Linked DNA regions of Homo sapiens: region 1 is linked to region 2. Evidence: promoter capture Hi-C in 16 types of primary human blood cells and fetal thymus (Javierre and others, 2016). All regions are on one chromosome and are shown on one strand. The core of a region is centred on a gene start or on the middle of the fragment in contact, and the rest is flanking DNA. Distances in the headings are between cores, read along the strand shown.

Region 1 (2,700 bases), core at 66-2,565, 660 kb before region 2:
GTTGATATGGCCCTGTTCAGCCAAATTTCCGAATCATAAAGTGACATGCTAATAGGATATACTGTGGCATTTCTGTGTATTACAGCTTGTATGGTTTGAGTTACTTTTCCACACATAATTTTTTCTCCTCCACACAAGTCATTAAATATGTTTTCCTGAGAGATAGTCAAGCTTTGTTGTATAGGAAAGTTTCGTTTGTGGAAATAAATGAGTTTCACTGTAAGCTAATGTAATTCTATTACGTGAGGAAATGTTCCTTAAAAAATAAAGAATATTATATACTGTTGTTTTCCTGAATATTTTTTAAAAGACACATTAACTATTTCCTATTTAATCCTTCATGGACATCCCACAATAGATTACCAGCACCTTAAAAAAAAAAAAAAAAACAAAAACGAAAAAACCAAAGACTAAAAACCCCCATTGGGGTTTTTTTTTTGGTACATACTTTGAAATTTATATTTTAAATGAATTAAAAAGTAACACTTTTTATATGTACATTGAAAGACATAAAACTTGATACAGAGAAAGTCAAATTTTAAATTGTTAAGGATTATCAAATTGAATTTGCCATGTAGTTCACAGTTTCCAACAAAATGTTTGTTTCAACAAGAAAAAATTTGAAGTCATTGGCATACATTTAGAGTTTACACTTTTCATAAACCAAGCCAGCATTTTTATTAGCACGTCAGAAACTCCCAGTGAGATTAATATTAATTAAACATAATCAAAAACTGCAGAATTACCTGCTTTTGAATTATCTCCCCAAGGAAAACTAGTCCAATAAAATAAAACTTGAAAATTATTAATATAAAAGAGAGGCCAGTCTGACTTAGTAAAACTCTGAATGCTAGAATTTTTAATGAAGACAGATTTATTTGAAAGTAAAGATGTAAACATAATGCAAAGATATAAACATGGTTTGTATTATATCTTTATAGTTTATATCTTTACTAACAAGTAAAATAAGGTAATAAAAATGTGTAACACATGATAAACCTATGCTACATAAAATAGCATAAACATACTTTTTTCATATATAAGAATTACTTTGGGAGGTCCTTAATGCTTTACTTTGGTTTGGAGAGAAAATGTTTTAAAATTGACTTTGCTTTACAAATGAGATCCTGAAAAATAGCAACCAAAGATATTTTTTCTCAAATGAAGTGGCCGTTTCAAAATTATATTACAAATTCTGAACTGATTGGATTAATACCCTTTTACTAGTTTAGTTTTTCTATTATTGCCTGAAAAGCATTTTTCTGCTTTAGAAAACAGTCCAGTTGACTTTTGATTGTTCTGTGTTTTGAGGACGTATCTTGAGTAATTTAAGAAATAAAGTGTTTTGGGTTTAAAAGCTCCCATGTCTTAAGTTGGTGAAATTTGAAAAGGTATTTTTAAAAAGAGGGATATTCAGGGCTGGGTGCTGTGGCTCATGCCTGTAATCCCAACACTTTGGAAGACAGAGGCAGGAGGATCGCTTGAACCCAGGAGTTGGAGACCAGCCTGGGCGACATAGTCTGTACAAAACAAACAAACAAACAAACAAAATTGGCTGGGCGTGGTGGTGTGCACCTGTAGTACTAGCTATTTGGAAAGCTGAGACAGGAGAATCGCTTCAGCCCAGAAGGTTGAGGCTGCAGTGAGCCAAGATCACGCCACTGCACTCCAGCCTGGGCAACAGAGCAAGAGCCTGTCTTAAAAAAAAAAAAAAAAAAGGCGGGGGGGGATATTCAGATTTGAATGGTAAATCCTGACTGATTTAATCCCTTGCCAACTGAGGATATTGATTCCTAAGGGAATCACTTAAAGTTTCTTCATCTGAGTTATGGAATTTTTTAAAAAACAAAAACAAATTTCCTCTCCATTTTTTTAACTAGTTTTTAAAATGTCTTGAACATTATTTTGACATAATCAAATTGAGCAGTATCATTTGTAGAATAAATTGTTAATTTTTTCTTTTAGAACAACATTTTGGTAACTTGTTTTAATGGAGGGAAGAAAGGTTGTGAATAAAGTATAGGACAATGTTTTTTCATTTAGATTTGAATATAGGTGTGACCACTCAGAGGATTCACTACAAATGAAATCATCAGGCTTCATTTAAGGATTTGACTGAGGTGGACTTGGGAAGCTGTCCATTTTCCACATCTCGACTTTTGCTTAGTTGCTTGATGTAACTCACTTCATGCTGAGTTTAGACAGCTCTCACAGTTTCCTCAGCACCAGGTTAAACAGAACTATCCTTTCAAAGAGCTTCCCTGCTGAGATGCAGAGTAGGAGTAAATAGAAGAGTGTGGGATGTCCACAAAGCAAGGAATTAAACAAAGTAGGCCAGACAGACTATAGAGGGAGCTGCTTGTCTTTAAGATTACTCTAAGGAACTCTGCCACTTCCTCTAGCTTAGTGAATATTTTGGTAGATTGTTCTAGATACTGTTAGCCATGAAATCAAGCTTTTCAACATAAGGAATTGATAATTCTGAAATGCTATATAAGTTTATGTAGATGCTTATCCAATTATAAATATATTCTCATTGTTTATATTTTATAAAATTAAATATAAGAAACTACCAGAATAACCTTTTTTTTTTTTTTTGGTAAATTGGAGTTAAATTTGCAATAAGAATAATTTTGAAAATTAGCGTGTATCAACAACTCAGGTTCAAAAGTTTCTCTAATAGAATCTGCTTTGTTCATA
Region 2 (2,700 bases), core at 124-2,623:
CTGAGGCAGGAGGATCCTTGAGCTCAGGAGTTGGACGCCAGCCTGGGCAACACAGCAAGGCCAGTCTCTTCAAAACAAAAGTGGGGTTTGGGGCTTCCAGGAGTGGTGGAGACAAGTTAAGAGAGGATAAGAGGAAAAAATGTCTAAGGTGAATAAAGGTTGACTTTTATGCAGATAAAAGTATCTCAGATGATACAAGTTGACTAGCAGCAGCTCTCTTTCTGGTAAGATTCCTTTAATTACGAAAATTTCCTTTAGAAATGTAAATTTCTCTTTACAAAGGAAGAGTTATTCTTTATTTTAGGCAGTAGTGGGATAAGTGAAGCATTTTCCTGTGTTGGCTGGATCTTAATTTATTTTGCTAAAAGACATCAATATGCCAGAGTGGCGTATTTTGGGGTGGCATATTCTGGACTCCTTCAGTTATAATTTGGGGTAGTGTGTCCTGAGCCCCAACACAATGAAATCAATCAACGTTCACCCTAACTAAAGGGGCTTTCTTAAACATTCTAGAACCTCACATCATGCATAGACCATAAAAAATCCTTTACAATTCAACCCAAAGGATCGTAAACGCGGCTTCCTCCAGGCACTTTTAATTGTCCTTAGACAGATGGCCAAAGCCTGGTTATGGGAACCGCATATGCTAAGAGAAAGCTGACTACAGCGCCAAGAAAATGATGATTGGCTGCTGGGGCTCAGAAGTTGCATGTTCTCCTCTGGCCAAGGCAGGCTCTAGGAAACTGCTGAAGGTTCAGTTTTTGAAATACGGTTTTTGCATCGTAAAGAAAAAAGATCAACCTATCAGGAAGAACCGAGCACATCCAATCACCAATCAAGAGCGGGAAAGAAGCCAAAGCCTGGGGATACCCACGCACCAACGAGGACGTCATTCTCCAGCCCCCGCCAATGAGCAGCGGGACGGGGGGCGGGGCAATAGGCGGACCCACTGCCCTAGAAAAGAAACAAGCTGCGGTACAACTGTCCTCACCAGCCCTCGCCTCCCGAGTCACTGCAGCCAACCCTTCAGCAAGGTGCTGATTTAATGCTTTCCATACTCTCTGCGTGGGGCTAGTTACAGTGAAGTATCCCCTTCCCACTAGAGTAAGGCACTTCTTTCCAGTGTCTCCCCGAGAACCGCAGAAAGCACACTGGAACTTCGAGCTTTCTACCTTCACAGGAACCGGGAGCCGTGCGCTACCTGAGGGGGAGGGGCGGCCCTGGTACGCAGGCGCGCATGCTTTGTGGGGGCGAGGCTGTGGTGGCCCGAGGTAACCTGGGAGCTGTATTTCTTACGCCGGCAAAACCGCCCAGGCCGCTGAGGCCTTCGCGACTTCATTTCCCAGGAGCCTCCGCGACCATGGGGCGGGCCAGTGAGTTCGCTAATGAGCTCGAGGAAGCCACGGCGCGGCCCACCAGGTTCCAAAACAAGGAAATGAAGGAGGGAGGCGGGACTGGGGGTGCCTGCGGGAGCCGCCGCCGCCGTCGCGGAGGAGGAGGAGGAAGAGGTGGAGGAGGTGGCTGCTGTGGCCGCCGAGGAGTCCCTTGCTGAAGGCGGACCGCGGAGCGGCGGGCGGCGGGCGGCGCGCGCGCGCGCGCGAGAGGCGGCTGTTGGAGAAGTGGAGCGGCGGTCGCGGGGGGAGGAGGAGGAGGGACTGAGCGGCGGCGGCCCCCGCGTCCCGTGCCTCTATGGGGGAAGCAGACAATGGATTATGATTTCAAGGCGAAGCTGGCGGCGGAGCGGGAGCGGGTGGAGGATTTGTTTGAGTACGAAGGGTGCAAAGTGGGACGCGGCACCTACGGTCACGTCTACAAGGCGAGGCGGAAAGATGGGTAAGAGCAGGGGCGGGAGGAGTAGGCTCGCTCGGGTCCTCGCCCTGCCCGCGACCTGGCGGGATGGGTGGGTCGGATCCCAGTCGGGCCGTGCCCGAGGGGCGAGGCGGAGGGGGTCGCGGGGTTGCGTCCGGACACCGACTCCGAGGGGCGCCCGTTCCGCCCGCCTCCCCCGCGCGGCCCCGTCGCGTACCTCGAACTCCCGCGGCGCAGCCCGGTCCGAGGCGTCGGTCCCGTCCCAGAGGGGCGCCCTCCGAGTGCTCGGAGACGGCGGGGGGACTCGAGTTGGGACCGCGGTGGAGGAGGAGTTTGTGGGGTCTAGTCTCTTGGGGGAACGCAGCGGGCAGGCAGAGCTCCGCTGCGGAGTTGCCGCTCCGGCCCTGGGTAGTGACGGTCGTTGTGGAACTTCCAATCGGCTGAGCGCCTCGCGGGGGCGGCGGTTTGAAACCTCGCCGGGGAGCCTGTCGGGCGAACGCGGCCTGGGGTCCTCGCCAGCCCCACGGCTCTGACCCGCTGGGCACCGCCGCCCCCAGCAGCGATCTCCGCCCTTCGGGCTGGCCGGCCCGTTGGCTTCTCTATGCAGTCCTCCCATCCCTGTTGTATGCCCGGCGTCCCGGGTTTCTCATTCTCACATTCTGAATTGCGTACCTTCCCCCTTCGAAGGAGACCTGATGGGCTAGCTGCGTTTCGCAAGCGGCAACTTAAGAGTTGGCTGAATTCTCTGCTACCCACCCTTTACCTTGCAGCCCCTTGGGTATCTTGGGTATTATGTCCTCCACTCCATCCTCTGCCAGATGACTGTGGGCTGGGGCTTATGGAGTACCTATATTATCAAGAACGGAATACGAAGTGACAGAGCTGGGCCTG

What was found. The method cuts DNA at HindIII sites, captures the fragments that hold promoters and counts their contacts. A CHiCAGO score of 5 or more calls a contact.
Region 1: a contact is called between a fragment that was not itself captured here and the fragment with the promoter of CDK19 in region 2, in 1 of 17 cell types (naive CD4 T cells). The highest score is 5.6, in naive CD4 T cells.

The regions. Positions count from the first base shown.
Region 1 is chr6:111,478,528-111,481,227 of GRCh38, reverse strand. All of the region lies in intron 1 of REV3L (REV3 like, DNA directed polymerase zeta catalytic subunit), which reads left to right. Among named protein-coding and RNA genes, the nearest start is that of REV3L, 3.3 kb to the left of the region's middle. RefSeq lists an enhancer at 1,862-2,586. The HindIII fragment of the contact is 2,284 bases long and covers 174-2,457 here.
Region 2 is chr6:110,814,142-110,816,841 of GRCh38, reverse strand. CDK19 (cyclin dependent kinase 19) reads left to right here and starts at 1,373. Exons shown (of 13, transcript NM_015076.5): 1 at 1,373-1,833. The coding sequence starts at 1,706. It also overlaps a transcript of AMD1 not described here. RefSeq lists enhancers at 1,073-1,152, 1,726-2,278, 2,513-2,622 and a silencer at 1,793-2,102. The HindIII fragment of the contact is 5,084 bases long and covers 1-2,700 here.